Regions from separate parts of the Homo sapiens genome. Here all the other regions are linked to region 7. The links are contacts of gene promoters, found by promoter capture Hi-C in blood cells and fetal thymus (Javierre and others, 2016). All regions are on one chromosome and are shown on one strand. Each heading gives the region's core, a stretch centred on a gene start or on the middle of the fragment in contact. The rest is flanking DNA. Distances are from core to core; before and after follow the strand shown. Region 1 has its middle 3.1 kb from the start of C11orf97. Region 2 overlaps C11orf97 (chromosome 11 open reading frame 97). Region 3 holds the start of HIKESHI (heat shock protein nuclear import factor hikeshi). Region 4 holds the start of EED (embryonic ectoderm development). Region 5 overlaps FUT4 (fucosyltransferase 4). Region 6 has its middle 1.9 kb from the start of PANX1. Region 7 holds the start of CHORDC1 (cysteine and histidine rich domain containing 1).

Evidence for each region. Contacts are between HindIII fragments. The CHiCAGO score rates a contact against its expected background, and 5 or more counts as called.
Region 1: a contact is called between a fragment that was not itself captured here and the fragment with the promoter of CHORDC1 in region 7, in 5 of 17 cell types (total B cells, naive CD8 T cells, naive CD4 T cells and 2 more). The highest score is 11.7, in total B cells.
Region 2: a fragment that was not itself captured here is called in contact with the fragment with the promoter of CHORDC1 in region 7 in 1 of 17 cell types (activated CD4 T cells); the score reaches 5.8 in activated CD4 T cells.
Region 3: a contact is called between the fragment with the promoter of HIKESHI here and the fragment with the promoter of CHORDC1 in region 7, in 1 of 17 cell types (non-activated CD4 T cells). The highest score is 7.3, in non-activated CD4 T cells.
Region 4: the fragment with the promoter of EED here is called in contact with the fragment with the promoter of CHORDC1 in region 7 in 1 of 17 cell types (non-activated CD4 T cells); the score reaches 5.7 in non-activated CD4 T cells.
Region 5: a contact is called between a fragment that was not itself captured here and the fragment with the promoter of CHORDC1 in region 7, in 4 of 17 cell types (non-activated CD4 T cells, activated CD4 T cells, total CD4 T cells and 1 more). The highest score is 7.7, in non-activated CD4 T cells.
Region 6: a fragment that was not itself captured here is called in contact with the fragment with the promoter of CHORDC1 in region 7 in 3 of 17 cell types (non-activated CD4 T cells, total CD4 T cells and activated CD4 T cells); the score reaches 7.5 in non-activated CD4 T cells.

The regions. Positions count from the first base shown.
Region 1 is chr11:94,508,055-94,510,754 of GRCh38, reverse strand. It overlaps a transcript of MRE11 not described here. Among named protein-coding and RNA genes, the nearest start is that of C11orf97, 3.1 kb to the left of the region's middle. The HindIII fragment of the contact is 1,830 bases long and covers 528-2,357 here.
Region 2 is chr11:94,528,792-94,531,525 of GRCh38, reverse strand. All of the region lies in intron 3 of C11orf97 (chromosome 11 open reading frame 97), which reads right to left. Among named protein-coding and RNA genes, the nearest start is that of FUT4, 14 kb to the left of the region's middle. The HindIII fragment of the contact is 2,658 bases long and covers 1-2,614 here.
Region 3 is chr11:86,300,890-86,303,589 of GRCh38, reverse strand. HIKESHI (heat shock protein nuclear import factor hikeshi) reads right to left here and starts at 1,350. Exons shown (of 5, transcript NM_016401.4): 1 at 1,112-1,350. The coding sequence starts at 1,141. The HindIII fragment of the contact is 4,753 bases long and covers 589-2,700 here.
Region 4 is chr11:86,243,303-86,246,090 of GRCh38, reverse strand. It overlaps EED (embryonic ectoderm development), which reads right to left and starts at 1,338. Exons shown (of 12, transcript NM_003797.5): 1 at 748-1,338. The coding sequence starts at 861. RefSeq lists enhancers at 826-1,354, 1,355-1,885. The HindIII fragment of the contact is 4,943 bases long and covers 1-2,788 here.
Region 5 is chr11:94,548,487-94,551,254 of GRCh38, reverse strand. FUT4 (fucosyltransferase 4) reads right to left here. Exons shown (of 1, transcript NM_002033.4): 1 at 1,360-2,768. The region is part of intron 4 of PIWIL4-AS1 (PIWIL4 antisense RNA 1); the gene reads left to right. Among named protein-coding and RNA genes, the nearest start is that of FUT4, 6.0 kb to the right of the region's middle. The HindIII fragment of the contact is 601 bases long and covers 968-1,568 here.
Region 6 is chr11:94,125,542-94,128,366 of GRCh38, reverse strand. No RefSeq gene overlaps it. Among named protein-coding and RNA genes, the nearest start is that of PANX1, 1.9 kb to the left of the region's middle. The HindIII fragment of the contact is 2,877 bases long and covers 1-2,688 here.
Region 7 is chr11:90,221,613-90,224,403 of GRCh38, reverse strand. It overlaps CHORDC1 (cysteine and histidine rich domain containing 1), which reads left to right and starts at 1,355. Exons shown (of 11, transcript NM_012124.3): 1 at 1,355-1,513. The coding sequence starts at 1,450. It overlaps LOC124902812 (a long non-coding RNA gene), which reads right to left and starts at 1,245. Exons shown (of 2, transcript XR_007062978.1): 1 at 984-1,245. The HindIII fragment of the contact is 11,072 bases long and covers 1-2,791 here.

The DNA.
Region 1 (2,700 bases), core at 193-2,692, 4.3 Mb before region 7:
CTTCGGCTATCAGAAGTCCATATGGCTGAAATAATTTGATGGGTGAGTTATGGCAACTCACCATGAGTTCTGATAGGTGAATTATGGCAACTCACCTATCAGAAGTCCAAATGGCAGAAATAATTTCCAAAAAGTTATTCTAAATGACTTATATTCACTATATCCTTACCTAATATGGGTTTATATAATTTGAAAGCAAAAACACCTAGATTTCATTTGATTGACTCATGATGCTATTTTAACATTATGTTCTTAGTTTTTATCAAGAAGCAGTGGGAAAAAAGTCAAATAAGAAATATTTCAGAATTTTAAGTGAAACTATTTTTAAAGATGCTGTTCATTCTGTCAACTGTCATTTGTTAGTTCTCACAGAATAAACTTCTTTAAGATTAGTTTCACCAATATCAGAAATGGTAAATCTATACCTAAAGATCTTACAGGCATTAAAAAGATAGGAAGATATTTTGAATAATTTGATGCTAGTAAATTTGACAACTTAGATAAAATAGAGAAATTACTTAAAAGCTTTCCAAAATAGACACAAGAAGAAATATAGCTTTAATAGAAGTAGTTATAAAAATATAACTACTAAAAATATGGAATTTAAAATTAAAACACATACCACAAAGAAAAAGCCTCACTGGTATCTTCCAAACATTTAAGAATGAAATAACACCAGTTCTGTCTAACCTCTTGCAGGAATTAAAAAAAAATGTTAACACTTCCCAACTCATCTTTATACCAAAATCTGAAAGAACATTACTAAAAAGGAAAATTATAGGTCAATATCTCTCAAGAAGATCAATTCAGATATTAAATAAAATATTAGCAAATATAACCCAAATGTAGCGTGTTAAAAAATGGATAATACATACATCACGATCAAGTTTTGATCATTGCAGGAATGCAAGGTTGTTTAAAATCAATACTGTATAACTTACCACATTAAAAAAATAAAAAAGGAAGAAATTAAACTGTTATTGGCTGTCAACATGGCTGTATACATAGAAAATTCAGGCCAGGCAAGGTGGGTCACGCCTGTAATCCAGCACTTTGGGAGGCTGAGGCGAGTGGATCATGAGGTCAAGGGATCGAGACCATCTGGCCAACATGGTGAAAACCCGTCTCTACTAAAAATACAAAAATTAGCTGGGCGTGGTGGTACGTGCCTGTAGTCCCAGCTACTCCGGAGGCTGAGGCAGGAGAATCACTTGAACCCGGGAGGTAGAGGTTGCAGTGAGCTGAGATCGCATCACTGCACTCCAGCCTGGCAACAGAGCAAGACTCCATCTCAAAAAGAAAAAAAAGAAAATTCAAATGAATGTACAGGTAAGCTATTGGAATTAATAAATTTATCAAGGGCAGTGGACACATGGTCAATAGAGAAAAATAAATGTTACTTTTATATAGTAAAAAAAATTAAAAATGGAATGTAAAAGACAATAACATTTATAACAGCATTGAGAGCCAAAAAAATACATTAAGGATAAATCTTTAAAAAGAGAGAACTCCAACTGAATACTCTAAAACGTTATCAAGAAAAAGTAATACCTAAATAAATGCAGAAATGTATTACAGTATATTCAAGAATTATAACACTGAATATTACAATGATGTTAATTTTCCTCAACTAGATCTAGAAATTTCATGTAATCTCAATATGAATCTCAGCAGGGTTGTTTAAAATAGATGTTGGCAAGGGGATTCTAAAATTAGAAAGTAAATGTAGCACTTTGGCAGGCTGAGGAGGGCGGATCACGAGGTCAAGAGTTTGAGACCAACCTGGCCAACATGGTGAAACCCCGTCTCTACTAAAAATACAAAAATTAACTGGGTGTGGTGGTGCGTGCCTGTAATCCCAGCTACTGGGGAGGCTGAGGCAGGAGAATGGCTTGAATCCAGGAGGCAGAGGTTGCAGTGAGCCGAGATCGTGCCACTGCACTCCAGCCTGGGTGAAAGAGCAAGACTCTGTCTCGAAAAAAAAAAAAAAAGGTAAATGTAGTGGGCCAAGACTGGTCAAAACAACTTTGAAAAATAAGAAAGAAGTTGGAATATCTACACTACCACATAATAAGACTTATGATAAAGCCAAAATATTAAAACTGTGGTATTGGGGCAAAGATAGCTCAATGAAATAAAATAGAATCTAGAAACAGACCCAACTAAATATGATCACCAGATAAATGATAAAAGTGTCACTGCAATGTAGTGTGTGTGTGTTTGTGTGAGGGGCTGTTCCTTTTAATAAGTGGCATTGATAAATTGGATATTAATATAGGAAAATGAACTTTGACTCCTACCGCATGTCAAATGCAAATATCAACTCAAAATAGCACTAAAGGTAAAACACAAAAGCTTCTAGAGTATAACAATGAAAAAAACCTTCATGATGTCTTCCTCATGTCTACCCTTTGGAGTAGACAACTACTTTTTAAACAGGAAACCAAAAGCACTAATCAAAAGAAGGCAATAGATATAGTAGAGGTCGTTAAAATTAAGATATTCTCAGGCCAGATGCTGTAGCTCATGCCTGTAATACCAGCACTTTAGGAGGCTGAGGCGGGAGGATGGCTTGAGCCCAGGAGTCTGAGAACAGCCTGGGGCAATATAGCAAGATTCTCTACAAAAACAAATACATGAATTAGTAGTCCTAGCTACTTGGGAGGCTGAGGCAGGAGAATTGCTTGAGCCGCAGAATTT
Region 2 (2,734 bases), core at 36-2,535, 4.3 Mb before region 7:
GCTTGTTTTGTGGCACAGAATAAGAAGGAAACGATAAAAGGTTTTTTGTCATCAACCATTACCGTTTGTTTGTTTGTTTGTTTGTTTGAAACACAGTCTTGCTCTGTCACCCAGGCTGGAGTGAAGTGGCCCAATCTTGGGTCGCTGCAACCCCTGCCACCCAGGTTCAAGCGATTCTGGTTCTTCAGCCTCCTGAGTAGCTGGGACTAGAAGCGTGCGTCACCCCGCCTGCTAATTTTTGTATTTTTAGTAGAGACGGGGTTTCGCCATGTTGACCAGGCTGGTCTTGAACTCCTGGCCTCAAGTGATCTGCCCGCCTTGGCCTCCCAGAGTGCTGGGATTGATAAAAGTAAATGAATAAAACCTCTTAGTGTGATGAAAGCAGTAGATGCTTCACAGTCTCTAATGGAAACATGCTTTAGAACTACAGTTGGATGATCATAATTCTAAATTTAAACTTTAAATGATGTGTATTATATGTTGGAAGAGTCCCAACTACCATGATCACATTGTTCATGAGAAAGAGAGAAGAAAAGCACAAGTGAATTGTTTAAATTGACAGTGGGATTTGACTGAAGTATCTAACTGAAGCATATTTTATGGGAGAAGTTCCTGGAAAACTCATTGTAAGCCACAGAAGACCTCTCTTTGAAAGTGTTAGTTCCAAGATGTATTTAAAATATATGCAACGTTTCAAGATTCACACAGTGAAGAAAGTAGGTTGCATTGCTTTTCCCTCTATTGTTTGCATTTGGTTTAGTGGTCTCAAGTAGAGAAAACGATATACTTTTGAGGGAGCAGGGGATGTATGTGAGTTAGCAGCAAGAAGATTCTAAACATAAAGAGGCATTTAACATATACTTACTGGTTCATTCATTCATTGGTCATTCTCATGACTAATAGCAATTGAGCACCTACTGTGCCAGGCACTGTGCTAAGTGCCAGATACACAGTGGTGAGTAAAACACAGTCTCTGCCTCCATGGAGTTTGTGATAGTGTATTAATTACTACTGACAATTTTTGAAAATTATCTATGGATTTTGTTCTTCTATGATATTTCTGTGCCTAGCATCTTCCTTTTTCATTGATAATGAGAAAGGTTTAATTCTTGGTTACCAGTCTGACATATAGATTGATCAATTGTGATTGTACAGCAGATAGTAGCAGCTCATATGATATGACAAAAATGCAGCTGGCAACCTAAAGAGATGAAGCTAAGCTATGTGTCAATAACAGTTACATATTGTAACATGACCACTGTAAGGGCTTGGCACCAGCTGGAAATAAATGGAGGGCCGAGGGCTACTAGGAATGTAGTGTGGATGAGTACAAATGAGCGGGAGCCATGAAATGTCTCTTAAATTGTATGGATGAAAGGAATGCAATTATGATCAAAATGAAACATGCATTTTTTATCATATGTCCCCAATCAATAAATTGGATAATTTATTGGACTTGTATGTCTTTAAATAAAGGAAATTTGTTATTCAATCAGTCTCATAATATGCACGCAGAAAACCATTCATCTTTAAAACAAATTACTTAGTGAGTTTTCTTGGAATGATGGAATTACCTACAATAAGTGGAACCTAAGAAATTGAGTGGAAAGTTGAGATAAATAGCTTCCAATAGGCAAGTGGCCCAGACTTTGGTTGAATCAACCATTAATTCAGGACACTAATATCTTTGTGAATTATGAAGGTAGCTGCCTCCCAGATTCCTAAAACCCTGTGTTTCCATATCCCTGGCATTTGTACCTATTTAACCGCAACACAACAACTGTTGCTTGTTGCACAGTGACTAGATTCTCTGCCATGATGGCCCAGTAGTGTTGGGCCATAGTCTTGGAACTGAGGGCATAGTCTTGGAAGCCAGATGGACATGGGTTTGTAGTTCTGGCTCCACTACCTGCTAGACATGGGATTGTAGGTAGTAAAGTGTCTCTATGCCTCAGTTTTCTTACCCAGAAAATGGAGATTATAATCCTCAACTCATATGATCATGTGGATTACATAACTGTATAAAACACTTGCTGCCATGCCTGGCTCCTGATAAATGGTGGCTACTACTACTTTATTATCATTAAACTGAAGTCTTCCTAACTGGCTCCTGTTTGCTACATGAATCCCCTTTAGTAACAAGTTTTGTGTTTGTTTTTTTAACCTCTTGTTTCAGTTTCTTAGTGGCTGTATTTTTTCCCTTACTGAGTCCATATCCCAGAGGCTGCATCCCTGGCCCCCTGGGGACCCTACTCCTATGTGACACTTTTATTGAACTCTCATCTCACTTCAGGTCCAATAGACATCCTAGCTCGTGGGCACTTGGCTCAGAGATGCAGTAGTGTCTAGTGGTTGAAAGCATGGACTTTGGAGACAGGCTGCTTTGGTTCAAATCCCAGCATTTCTACTCTTCTACTTGTTAGCTGAGCGAACCGGGGTAAATTATTTCACCTCTCTGTGCCTGAGTTTCTGCCTACCTTGGCCTCCTAAAGTACTGGGATTACAGGTGTGAGCCACTGTGCCCAGCCTATTATTGTATATATTAAGAATCTAGAATAAGCAATGCTATATAGCATTGCTATTATGATTCATATCTTGGTTGAGTACCCAAGCTTGAATTTTATCTACTTCTCCCTTTTTACCCAGGGTAATCTCCCAATTGTAGGTCTATTTTGAGGACTTATATACACAGCTGCATGTCCCTAGATTATCTGGACACTGTGCTTCCATATGA
Region 3 (2,700 bases), core at 101-2,600, 3.9 Mb after region 7:
AATAGGCTTTTTATTCTTTAAGAAACACAATTTTAATGTCATTCATTAATAACACTCACTCGTCTGAGTCACACAATCATTCCAGGTTTGTCCTTTTTCCCTATTAAGAGCAGGGCAAAATTATCTCACCAGGATTATGAATTACCACCATCACCACAGGGGTCTCCCAGTCATTCAAGAGACAAACTTTATGAGGCTAGTCATCTCCAACTTATCTTTCTGGCTTCTTAGAACTGTATATGTACAGAATACAATACATTATCAAAACTTGATGGGAAAAAAAGACAATTCAGCAAAGGGACTGCAACATTTTAAAAAGCCAGGAGAAAAAAGAAGGAAAAATACTTCTAGGGGAAAGGAATCAGGCCTGAAAATTGATGTCTGTGTGGTTTCTAAGGAAACAAACAAGATTCACCTTCCAGATTATTCCTAAAGAATTCCAGGTGCTGTTCTCATTTACTCTAACAATTTGGCAAGGTAAGTTATCTATTTTGACCCATAAGGAAACACACTACTCGCATCCTTCTCTGGTTATCTCAGATACGGCTCACACGTTAAGTTTCAGCCAACTTCCAATTAAATTAAGCTTATTTTTACTCGGGTTCTTCCAAAGGGACCCAAAAGATATACATTCCCTGAGCACCTTAATCTTTGAAAAACAGTTTGCTATAGACCAAATTCAATCCCAAATTCACCTCTACCTCAAGTTAATAAAGAAGGTATTTATACTGGCGATTGAACTTAGTTCTGTAACTGCAAAATGTCAAAGATAAAGACCATCTCACGAGTTATGAGGATTAAGTTCAAAGTGCCAAATAAGCGCCACACATAAGGCTGAGTGACCAAAGGCGTGCATTGCACTTAGCCCAGTACTTGGTACAAAATGCACACTTAATAAATGCCAACTTATACTGTGACTACTATTCGAAAGAATCTGAATAGAGCTGGGCAAAGGAGAGCACCCAGCTTCCCACGCTCCATCCTCACATACCCACCCAAAATATAATAAGTGGGCTTCCCCGCATCCCTAGCGCCTGCGCACCCTCCCTGCCGTAGGGCTTCGCCCTCGGTATCCTGACCCCTTCCTGATATCACCCGGTCCCATCCTCACCAGCCTCCCCGCCACCAAGCAGCCAAACATGGCGACGGCAGCTCCGTTCAGCCGGCAGTGACCTGAAGCCGGCGACTAGGAGTCCTGGGGCTACTGCCCTAGTCGAGACTAAGAACCTTCCAGAATTTGCGGGAGGGTGTCTGCCCCTCCACTACATAGTGACTGGGCCAGCGGCAAGAATGCCTCTGCCCCCGCGAACTCTGACCTTCTCTTCCTAAGCAGCCCACTGCTCAGGCAACAAGTACTTCCGGGGCTTACACCCGGTTTTCCCCACTAAGGAAGAAAGGCGGGCCAGCGCCAGTACAAGACTACAAGTCCCAGAACAAGTCCCAGAGGGCACCGCGCCAGTTTCCGGGAAGGTAAGCCTGGAGGCTTTGCACACTGGGATCGGTAGTCCGGGTGTTTTATAGCCACAAAATCTGTGGATCCTTCATTTCCATGTACAATCCTGGGAAGAGATGCTTCTAACGTTTCTGTGACATCTGAGAGATTAACGGTGCACTTTTACAATAATCACGTCACTAGATCTTTACAAAAACCCTATGAGGTAAGTATTATAATCCAAATTTTATAGGAGTGATCAGCCTCAAATCTTTACACAGCAGTAAATGTTGGAGGCTGAATTCAAGTCCTAATCCAAATCCGGGTTTCTTTCTGCTACACAGTGTCTCAGAAGTATTAATCTTTAACCAATTGTTTTGTACTTGTCTACAATTTATAGTAGTTCTTTCCAGCTTCACTTAGTTCTCCCATTCATTTGCTGTACAATTGTGGACGAGTTGTAGATGTCTTTGTGCTTCAGTGCCCCTCCTTTGCAAAAGACAAATAATGAGCCTATTGCCTAGGGTTGCTGTGAGGATTAAATGAGCTAATATGTATAAAACACTTAAAACAGTGCTTGGCTGTGCTTAATTAGTGGGAGTTTTATTGTAAAAATGTCTATTTTTTTTCTATGTGGATCTGCAGAAAAGTTTCATAGGAAATACAAAACAATAGCCAAAAAAAAAAAAAAAAATACTGGCATTAAGTACCGATTGCCACCAATACTTATTCTCCCTTTCACAGCTCCAATTCCTTTTCTTCTTGAATAGGATAGTAAAGGGTCTCTGTCCAATTTGAAATATCTGAGCTTGGCCACCAGCCGTAAAGCAGGTCTGTCTTCCCAGTTCTCAGTTTATATATGGGGGATCAGTGTTTGGAACAGTCCTCTGGCCTCCACTGTGGATCCCTAAACTGATCACCTATCTTATCACCGATACTCCTTTGAGATAGCTGTGCCAAAGGTGAAGAGGTAGGAAAGGATCTACCAATGTTTCCAACTTACTATCTAAAAAGTCCTAGAACCTTCAGAATAAAAAGGCCATTCATATGAAGACCACTTCATAAATTAAGGCACCCACACTACCTGGGTTCAGAGCCCATCTCTGCCATTTATTAGTTACATAATCTCAGGCAAGTTAACCTAACACTCCCATACCTCCTTTTCCCCATCTTTAAAATGAAGTAATAGTAGTATCTACCTCATAAAGTTGTTTTGAGGGTTCTTACACGTAAAGTACTCAATAGTGGCCAGAATGTAGCTTACTCAA
Region 4 (2,788 bases), core at 89-2,588, 4.0 Mb after region 7:
CTTGGCGAAGCCAGGAACCCACACTTAAATACATCTGCCTATACCACTGTTGCCCAAAATCTTCCAGGTCGCCACCCCCCTCACCTTTATCTTAAGTAAAAACGTTCAAAGAAGAAATCACCCACTCTTACTTCCTCAAAGGTAGTCACTCCCCACCCCCAAATCAAAAATCGATCCTCTCAATTCGGCTCCTCCTACAGAAAAGGCGACCTTCAGGCGCACCCGGTCTCCGCGGACAGGACGGAGGCGGACACAAAACCCCCTTTAATAAAGTCTCCCAAACTCCGCAAATCGAAGATCACTTTCCATCCTGAAAATTCCACAAGGGTCTTAGAGTGACAACCCTTACGCTCCTTTAACAGGGTCCCTAACTCTGCCCCGTCCTTCCAACTTTCTTAGAAAAGTCTCTAACGTGCCTTTTAAACTACTAGAATCTCAGACCCGCACTCTCCCCTTAAATCCCCCCAAAGGCCAAAACACTCCCCATCACATGCAAACTGATTTCAGGGCAGACTTCTCAGACCCACGCAATCACTAGAACCACTCTCCTTTGCCTAGTTCCTGCTTGCTCTCGGCCCCACATCAAAATCCCCGTAGGCAATTTCAATTTTCTCCCGCACGCCCGCGTTTTCCTGAGTGACACCTCTCCCTCCCCCCACAGCAGCCCGCTCGTCCCCGCGCCCCCCGTTTTAAAAGAATTTAAAACTTTCACTCCGCAGTCTCGTAACTGCCAGAAGCTGCACTTACATTCTCGTCTCCAGAGAGGTCTGGATTGCTGTTCTCGTCACTGCTCAGCTTCTGCTTCTTGGCCGCAGGCATGTCTGTTCCCGCCGGCGCAGTCGACACTTCCCTCTCGGACATATTCCTCCGCCTCCCTCCAGGTTCCTGCCGCCTGGGGCGGGGCCTCCGCCACACCGCCGTCAAGCAAGCCCGGCCCGAGCTTGCCGCAAAGTTGCCGCTGCCGCCGCCACCTCCACCGCCCCCCCCACTGTCGCAAATCGCGCCCAGCCGCCGAGGCGGGCGTGCGTGCGACCCCGCCACACTGCTGAAAAAGGGGCGCGCGCGCGCGCCCTCCCGCGCGGCTTCCTGGCTCCTTCCCTTCCCCAACTCCCGTCTTGCCCTTTTCCCGCCGCCCTCCCGGCAGTCTACACGATGTAAGGTCCGTTGGATTAAGAGGGCAGTATTAAGTATGTCTCCCTTCCCACCACCGCCTCGAGAAGAGGCGAAACTCAAAGGGATGCTCCCTCACCCCCTTCCTCCTTCCAAAGACGTTTCAGCCGCAATTGGCCCGTTCCTTCGATCTCCGACCCGCTGCTAGGGAGCGAAAGTCTGTGGAATGGGCTACACCACCAATGTCCCAGGAAACGGGGGAAGATACAAGACGTCACCTCTTGCTTTAGCTGTGCATGCCACGTTTCCTTAATCTTGAACTTGGAGGACAGCGCTTCCTGACTATTCACGGAACTATTCATAACCTAATTCTTCCTTGAAGATAGAAATGCAAAAACAGTAACCTGCTTCCCCCTGGCTTCCCCCATCTGGCGAATGGAAAGTACCCGTCAGGGGATGCGCAGGCGCCGTGGCGTACTCTTGCGCTGGGTTCGTCGAAACCCGCCTCCTCCAAGCCCCTCCTCTGTTTGAATTCTCGTTTGCTGAACCAGGTAGTTTTCTACCCGGTTTCCGAATCCCAGGGTGGATTTCAAAGCGCTACCGAATTATACTCTAGACGCTTCGTAAATTCTTGTCGGATATTTATTCTGTTGACTATTTATTGTAATGAATGATTATCCTTCCAGTTGCTACCAATAGTGGTTAAGACTTAAATAGAAATATCCTAACATTATGAGACTAGACTCCAATGAGTTACAGCCAAAGTGCTCTTTTTAGCTGCTAAAGGATAGGCCCTGAACTACGCCAAGGCCTAAGAATCAGTGCTCATCTCCATTATGAGATTGTGATACTTAACCGACAATGTTTTGCTTGTTTTTGCACATCAGATACAATGAAATTCTAGAAGGCAACACAACTGTTAAACTTCACCAAAATATTTGCCTCTGTTACTATATCTATTCTCTAGCAGGTGCCAGATAACATTGGTGAGCCTTGTGGAATTATTATATGGGTCATGAAACCATAACTGAATGAGCAGCAGGAAAAGGAGAGTGATGACGAAAAATAAAATACGGCATCCGCCACCTTTTTTTTGTTTTTCTTAGAACATGATTGTGACTACTTATCTATTCGGGCTTCTGTAAAAATGTCCTCATCTGTAAAAATGAGGAGGCAGGAAGGGAGAAAGGGACCTACCATTTCTTGGGCACCTGCTTGATGTTGTATATCTTTTCTCTTCTAGACCTCATTACCCACCTAGAGTGCACCATCCATAAAATTCTAGTATACTTGAATTATTTCTGCATGATAACTTTATAACCAGGACATCAGTTTCCTTATCTGCAGATTGCAAGTCACTCTTTCTTTTGTAGATAAAGAGAGAACTCTTGGTTGAGAATGAGAAAAGGAAGTAAAGCAAAGGCAGGTCAGAATGAGAGGTTTCTGCAGTGAAGACTTTGAAATAAAGAAGCCGAAAAAAAATTAAAGTTGAGGTCTCAATGACGGCAGTCATTTGTTCAGTACTTCCAATGTTCCAGGCACTACTAAGCACTCCTCAGTTGGTGAGAAGAGATGAGACTGGAGTAGAGTAAGCTCCTGACAAAGTAAGACGTGCTTTGGCATGACATTTTCATCAGCAGACAGAAACATCCTTCCCTTTGTTAAGAACATCTTTCCC
Region 5 (2,768 bases), core at 19-2,518, 4.3 Mb before region 7:
TTGTATTTTTAGTACAGACGGGGTTTCACTGTGTTAGCCAGGATGGTCTCCATCTCCTGACCTCATGATCTGCCCACCTCAGCCTCCCAAAGTGCTGGGATTACAGGCGTGAGCTACCGCACCTGGCCTTCTATTCTTTAAAACAGTAAATTGGTGATTATGACAACATAACAAAATATACTTCTTTAAAAGTGAATATTGAGTACAGATGAAATATGCTGTCTAGAAATGAAAAAGTGGCCATGAATGCGAATTTTCCAAGATGAAGAAAAGGACCATTCATTCAAGTTCAAGAATCTGTTGTCATGAATCAAGGGACAGTTCTATATTTCTGCTAAAATGTTAGGTGATTTCTTGTTAAGTTTCTGACTTTCCCTGTCAGTGAGTTCAGACTTCTTGATTTGACTCCCCATTTGCTGACAGATGCTGCGTTTCAAGCTGGAGCAAAGGTTTCTTTTCAGCATTGTGGCAGAGAATGGTAGATTTTAACCTATTTCCTCATTCTTGCCGCATATGTTCCTCCTTTGTCCTGCCACTCTTGCCGTTTAACACTTATCTTTCCTCTACTTTTCTCATGTTTCCTAGCCTCTGCCTTTCTTCTATCTGATCGTCTCTTCACTTTGTACTTTTATCCCCACCCCCATCTTTCTTTTCCTCTTCACTCCCCATCTATATTCACCACCTGCTCTATTTTACAATGCACTTTTCTTTTTACTCATTCATTATTGAATCCTTTTTTCTTGCCAATCCTGCTCCTATCTTCAGCTGGCCATCATAATTTTTCAAAGTCTGTGCTTAAATGAACATGTCAGAGTGTGTGTGTGTGCATGCATGTGTGTGTGCGTGCGTGCGTGTGTGTGGTGTTGGAGGAGGGCAGGTAGGAAAGAAGAGACAATAGTTAGTGTTTATTACCACTTCGTATTTTCCTATTTCAATAATTTAAGCATCGGCTGTTAAGAAGAAAGCTTGCCTCCCCTTCTCTCTGCCCATCATCATGTTCCCAGTTCTGATCCTACTCTTTTTAAAATGGCATTTAATTTAGTGAACAGGAGCTAGAGACAATACATGGAGGGCATCACATCAGAGCACTCAGGAAAATAAACTGGACTGAGAGAAAGGAGTATACTACTTATGCCCTTGGAGATGATTCCTCAGAATAAAGTGGAAAAGACAGGCAAGAAAGAACAAGAGGACAGGCTGAATTGGACTTTGTGCAACACAGAAGAGGCAAAGCCATCACATTCCAATTACCAATCTAGAACTAGTGAACTTACAGAAACTGCCCCAAGCCAAGAAATATCCCATGGGTGACGACTGAACACATTAGTGCATGGAGGATATACATTATAAACAGAGTCATTTTCCATCTCATTATTTTAATCATTTTGTCAAAAAATCTGAACATGTGTACATAAATACTTGATTTGTTAAAAGAATGTGTAGCATAGAAATCCCTGAGACACATTCAAAAATGACTTGACATCTTGACATGTATTCAATGCAAGTATTCACCAAACTAAATACCAAGGACTTGGCTCCTTTCCCTGATATTTGAGGCATATAAAGCTTTAAAAATATATATAATATACTATATATATAATTTACATCTTTAAAGTTAAATTATATTTTCTTTCTCTGATTCCTGGTTTTCTGCCAGTTTACTGCTCCTGCATATTGTCAGTTCCAGACTGTAAGGAAGCCACATTGGAAAGCAGATAAGCACTTTCAACCTTAGGGTGCCAGTTAGTAGAATGATAGCACGTGGAACTAGGAGGTCCCAACAGATGATTTTGTCTAACCCACTCATTTTGCAGTTCAGGTGACAGAGGCTCAAAGAGGTTGTGATTTGCAGAAGCATGGCTGGTTCTGCCACTGCTATTGTAATGTTATGCAAGTCCTTCAGTGGGCCTGGACCTTGGCTCCTTCCTCGGTAAAATGGACTGATGGTAATCACAGCGAATATTTTCCAGGTGCTTCCTACATGCCAGGCACTATCCTGAGTACTTCAAGTGTCTAATCTATCCTCTCAACACCTCCATAAATTATATATGCAAAGCGTAAAATATTTACTCCCTGGAAAAACGTTTGCCAATCCCTGGTTTAGATCCTTGAAAATTTAGAACATCTTATAATTATATAGCACTTTACAATATACAAAGCACCTTGGCATACATCATCACATTTAATCTTTGTTTTGTAGGGGGATAGGCATTCATGCATTGTAAAGGAGAAAGCTAAAACTCAAGAGTTTAAGTAACTTGCTTCATCAAGGCCACAGAGTCATACCCAGGTTCTGACTCCAAACTGCATGCTCTTTACATGAAACTCCTCTGTCTCCCCTAAATTACTGCTAGGAAAAGACTTGGAAACTGGAAAGAACTTGTGAATACTGAAAGCAAGTCAGACCGTCTTCTGTTACAAATGTCATTCCAGGTGCATTCATGTAATTAGAGTCATCAAGTACTAAAAATACTAAATTTGTAATAAATTTGAGGGAAAAGCCTTAAAGGAGGACATGACAATCATAGGAAAGGCATTTTGAAATACATACAGTGCACCGATATGCATTTTTCTTAAGGTATGTTAGAGCTGAACCTACTCAATTTAATATATGCAAAATAAAATGAGCAATTGCCACATTCATCTCGCTCTCTGATGAGATTAGTGTTAAATTGTTCCACATTAACAATGTGTATGTGAATAAAAATGCAATGGCTGGGCACGGCGGCTCACACCTGTAATCCCAGCTCTCTGAGAGGCCGAGGCAG
Region 6 (2,825 bases), core at 1-2,500, 3.9 Mb before region 7:
AGCCTTGTTCCGGGAGCCAGCAGAGAGAGGGGGGCCTGCAGGTAGGTGGGTGTTGGGGCTGCAGAGAGCTGCTTCTGAACAGCTCATAGGAAGTGGATGATGGAAAGACAGGAGGAAATACTCTGACCAGTGTCCACGGAAATTAAGGCTGTTGAAGTAGAAATAATTTGATTTATTGGAAGCTAAATGTGAGGATCCACCCAAGAAGACTTACCAGCAAAGTTGGGCATGTTTCAAAATTTGTTACACGTTGGAAGGGTTTTAGAAGAAAGTTTAGGAAAAGGGAGGAGGACCCCTTATATCAGAGGTGGGATTTTTTTCATCGGAGGGTATGGTACACAGGTTACAGTCACTGGCTGCAGATGACAACATACAGGCTAAAATGTTTTGTGCACAAGAAAATCAAAGTTTATATGATTCAGAAACAAGTCAGTGTTCTTTTCAATGTCAGTATTTTACATACTAATCAGTACATCAGCAGTTTGAGGAACTGACAAAAGGATTTGAAGGACTCACAGTAAGATTTTTTACTCAGGGACAGGATCTAAGCCATGAATCATAAGACCTTTCTTAGATGGCTTAGTTTGGAAGCCCTGTCAAATGTGACATGTAGGTTATCACCAGTAACATTTGAAGCAGGCAGGACCTGCAAACATGAGGGCTCCTTGGGGCAGGGCTTGGCTCCCTTCTCTGTGGGTCCACAGATACAAGCCTCAACTCCCACATGTACCTCTCCACCCCAGCCTGGCCGCTAAACACACATCCAAGAGCGTATACAGCTCTCTCCGCGTAGATGGCTCATAGGGCTTCAAACTCATAACGGCCAGGACTTCAGTCTTCATCTTCCCCTTAAACCTGAACTCCATCTTCCCCATCTTACTAAATGTACCACCAGCCACCTGTGCACCCAAGTCGGAATCCTGGAGCACCATCTTCAACACTCCATTTCTCACAGCTGCCATAACCAATTTTCAAATTCTCTTGCTTCTCTCTCCTAAATATAGCAAATCTGACACCCCTCCACCTGCACTGCCAATACCCAATTCAACTCACCATCCTGTCTCCTAACCACATATAGGAAATATGTGAGACAGGGTCCCCCTCCATTCTCCTCTACAGCTGCCAGGATGAGCTTTTCAAAACTCCAGTCGGATCATCTTTTCTACTTAAAGTGTACATTGTTTTTAGCATAAAATACAAATTTCTTAGCATGGCCTCTGCCTACCTCACCACCAGCTTCACTGCTTTCCTTTCAGTTCTTCAAGTTAGCTAAGCCCTTGGCCTCCTCCAGGCCTTCCCACCCAAAACACTCCCCACAGTGGCCTCTTTGCCTGGCCCACCTTTATTCACCCTTCTGGCCTCAGCTTGATGTCACTTCCCTGGGAAAGCCTTCCCTAAGTAGACAGACTAGATTAGGTCCCTTTGTGAAATTCTCCCATAATACTAGCCACACTAGTTACTAGCTATTAGTCTTGGGGAGTTCTTTGACTCTCCTGTGTCTCAGTTTTCTCATCTGTAAAAAGGTTGTACCTCTTAGGACTGTGATAAGGACCAAATGAGTTAACACGTGGGTAGTGCCCAGTGCCTGGCACCTTGTGAATCTAGGTACATTTCATCTGTCATTGTTCTCTATTTTTCCTTCTTAAAAATAGTCACCATTGCAACTCAACAAATATTTATTCATTTATTTAGTGTTTGCCACCACTTTATGTGATCGGCTTCTTGAGGGTAGGCCCATGCCCATGTGTACCACTTTTATCCTCAACACTTAGCACAAATGCCTCACACAGAGTTGATGTTTTAATTCATATTATTAAATAAATGTCTGAAGGAATCTGAACACTTTTTAAAACTGGCCCAGTTCACACTCATTTATCCATACATTCCAGGCATATATTAGAGGCTGGTGATGGGCCAGTTCTGGGCTCAGTGGATGGGGAAGCAGAAATGAAGTGAATGGATTCCATTTCCTCAAAGACCTTATGGCTTAGCAAGAGAAATAAGGCATGCACACAATTAACTATAATGCAAGGTAGAAAGAGTGATTATTGTGAAAAGTGGGGTATACCAAGGGAGGTGCAGAGAATAAGTAGGGCCTGGGAGAATGTGTCAGTTGGGACATTCAGAGCTGGGACAGGGGCTTTCTGGGAGTCAGGAAATCATGGGTGCCATTTCCCTTCTTTCCTTGCCAAAAGCTAATCATCCGATAGGCTCAAATGGCCCCTTTTTAGGCTCAAATGCCCCCTTTTTAGGAAGCCTTCCAGGATCCTCCAGTTGTAATGAATCCTTCCCTCCCTTGTTACTCTCTCCTCTGGCCTAGAAGTTAGTTCATTTTGCCTCCTGTGATGGGATGATGGATTGTGTATCTCTTTTTTCATTACATAGCAAGTTCCTCTGAGGATCTGGAGTGAATCTCAGCAGTTGCATAAATTGCCCTCAGTTTTGGCAATTTTTTACATTCCATATGATGTTATCCTACTTTTAATGAATTTAAAATAGAAGCCAGATGGAGAACTTGTTGGAAAATAGTGTGTCCGGAATTGATTCCTTCTGGTGGGTTCTTGGTCTCACTGACTTCAAGAATGAAGCCACGGGCCCTCGTGTTGAGTGTTACTGTTCTTAAAGGTAGTGTGGACCCAAAGAGTGAGCAGCAGCAAGATTTATTGTGAAGAACAAAAGAACAAAGCTTCCACAGCATGGAAGGGAAGCTGAGCAGCTTGCCGCTCTGGTGGCCAGCTTGTATTCACTTATTTGGCCCCGCCCACATCTTGCTGATTGGTCCATTTTACAGAGCGCTGATTGGTCCATTTCACAGAGTGATAATT
Region 7 (2,791 bases), core at 106-2,605:
AATTGGTACCACCTTTCGGAAAGCAATTGGCTCTATATATCTTTAAAATCTTAAAGTTATTTAAAAAGCCTTATGCCCTTTACCCCAGAACTGTCGCTTTCCAAAAATTTTCCTAAAGGGGGAAATTCGAAATAAGAAAAACAATACACAGGTTGAGCACTGTAACTTATATATAATAAAGTTGGGGAAATTAGAGAAAGGTTAAATTACAGTGCATTTATTCAACAGAATACTCCGTCATTTGTAACAATGACTATGAAACAAAATAGAAAAATACTCACGTTAGGTTAAATGAAGAAAACATACCTATCTATGGTGGATCACAATATGAAAATTTAATACTTCTAGGTAGAAGAAGAGAAAGAGAATATGAAAAACTAAAAAGTCTTTAGGGGTAGGAGGACGTGAGCAGATCTCTAAATAACCTTGAGATCAATGGAAACAGTGTATAGATTTTTAGGTTCACTTATAAGCTGCTGATCTTATTTTAAGATCCTTCAGTATATGTTATCAAAAAGTGTTTGCTTTTCTTGCAAACGCCCATGTTTGGGAAATATGCAAGTTGAAGCCAATGCATTACTGTACTTTTTATAATGCACCTGAAGTTTTACTAGCTGTTCCAAGAGTGGTGTACTGAGTATTGATAAATCGTTTAAGTGGAGGCTCACATGAAATATTAACTATTACCCCAGGGCTTTAGAGCAACTGTGATCAATTCTGGCACAGCATCAGATCCATAATTTTCTTTGCTACTCTGATTTCTACGTTTTTTGTATTTTCAAAGTAATGTGACCGCAACTGTTAAGTTATTAAAATTGCTCCTGAGATGAGGGCACTCGAGACACAAACACACGGAGAGGTTCGTCCGCTATTCCTCTCATTTACTAAGCTCACACGTCTACCCTGAGGATTTGGAAACACTGTATGATTCTGCACTTACTGTGCACTTATCCCTTAGTGCTAAGGGGTAAACAGATACCCACCGGGCTGTCTAAGGCGCAGCCTCAAGGCAAGGAAGAAGGGTGCTGGGTCGCAGGGGATGAGAGGGCGGGGCGGCCACTTTGCTGCAGGAGATACCCAAAGCCAGTTAGCACTGAGGAAGTCAGAAGAGAATTGTCAGTCTCTCGGACACCTTCATTTTCTGCCCCGGAAATTTCTCCTCCGCTGTTGTCTGGGCTCCACTTCCGACCCCCAGTTGCTACCAGCTGTAGTCCGACCTATCGTGGCCCGGGCTAGTGCCAGCCTCCCGCCGCTACCTCCGCCTCGTCCCTTCTCCTCTGCGCCTGCGCGACCGGAAAATTCGCGAAGGTTCCTGAAACGCAACGGATCGTTTCCGGAAGCCGGTAGCCGCCTCAGTCGTCAGACCGGTGCTAGCGACACGGGAGTGGCAAACGCATCCTCTTGCCGTTCCCGGTGTTTGGGCCTTGCCTGTGACGGTGGGAAAAGAAAATGGCCTTGCTGTGCTACAACCGGGGCTGCGGTCAGCGCTTCGATCCTGAGACCAATTCCGACGGTAAGAGGAACGCGCCGCCAGCCCTCCCTCCCCTCCACCTCATCAGCAGGGGAGGCCCTTTGGGCCGGAGGGTGTCCGCGGATCTCCTGCAGCCGTCCTCGCGCGGCCCCAGGTCCATGCCCCTCCTGGGCCTCCCTTGGCTGCCCGCGCAGCCCGCCGGCCGCCCCTCTGTTGCGCCGCGTTCCCTTGGCGAGCGCCCGGCCCCGGCGCCTGACTGTCCTCTGCCACTGCGGAGAGAGACGCTCCCATGGATCCACGTGTTTCCCCCGTCGTCCCCGCACTCCTTTTAAGTCGCCTGGAATTTAGAACGAACACGTTTCTCCTCTGGCCCTCCAGTCTCTGGGGAAGCAAAAATTAACGAGGTACTGGTGAGCTTGCTTTGTAGTTCCCGAAGTAGTGATGGCTGTGATTGCCTGCGCGAGAGGGAGAGGTGGCCGGGATGAGCAGCGGGTTGTCCTAGCATGTAAGCTCTGCCTTGTAGAAGTTTGTGTTCAGTCGATCCGCTGTTACAAACCTCTTACAAGTGTTCTTGGTAAGGGACATTACTCTGTATCTTCACGCTGTTTTGATAGGTTCATCCTGGTGGTACGTTAGTTATCTTTTTATTACTAGCGGCATTTGTTGCTTGTTCTTCTTGTGGCCTCCACGTTTTACTACCATGCCTACTCCCGTATAAAATGAGTGAATGTCATCTACAGCACCTAGATGTCGAGTTAAGGATCCAAAGCGAAAATGACTATTAGGTGAAGGACGGGAAATGATCAGTGAATTGAAATTTTGATTGACAAAGAAGTGAGATGATTCCTTGCGTATCGTGAGAAGTGACAACACGTTTTCAGATTGAACTAGCATTTAGTTTATATTTTCTGCATGCCAGCCATTATTGCTTTATCTTATTTAATCTTCATAACCACCCTGGGACGCATGTAATGTTAATTAGACCCATTTGATAGAGAAGCTCAGTTCAATGAGGTTGTATTAATAACATCCTTCATTATTGTGGAGGAGATGAAAACTGATGCCTTTTGAACTCTTCACCTCTGAGATGTTTGAAATACTTATTTTTGGCACACAGGTAAATTGATAGCGTTATTTAAAATAAGACCATTGATACAGAGTTTTAAGGAAAAGGAAAATCCAACCTATGCAATACTCAAGTTACCGCCACTGACATTTTTATGATGCAAATATGATGCTACTCATGAGGAAAATTGTGAGATTTCAGTCGATGACAAAATCGAGAAACGATTTTAAAGCCCTTTGGTGTTGGCAGCCTAT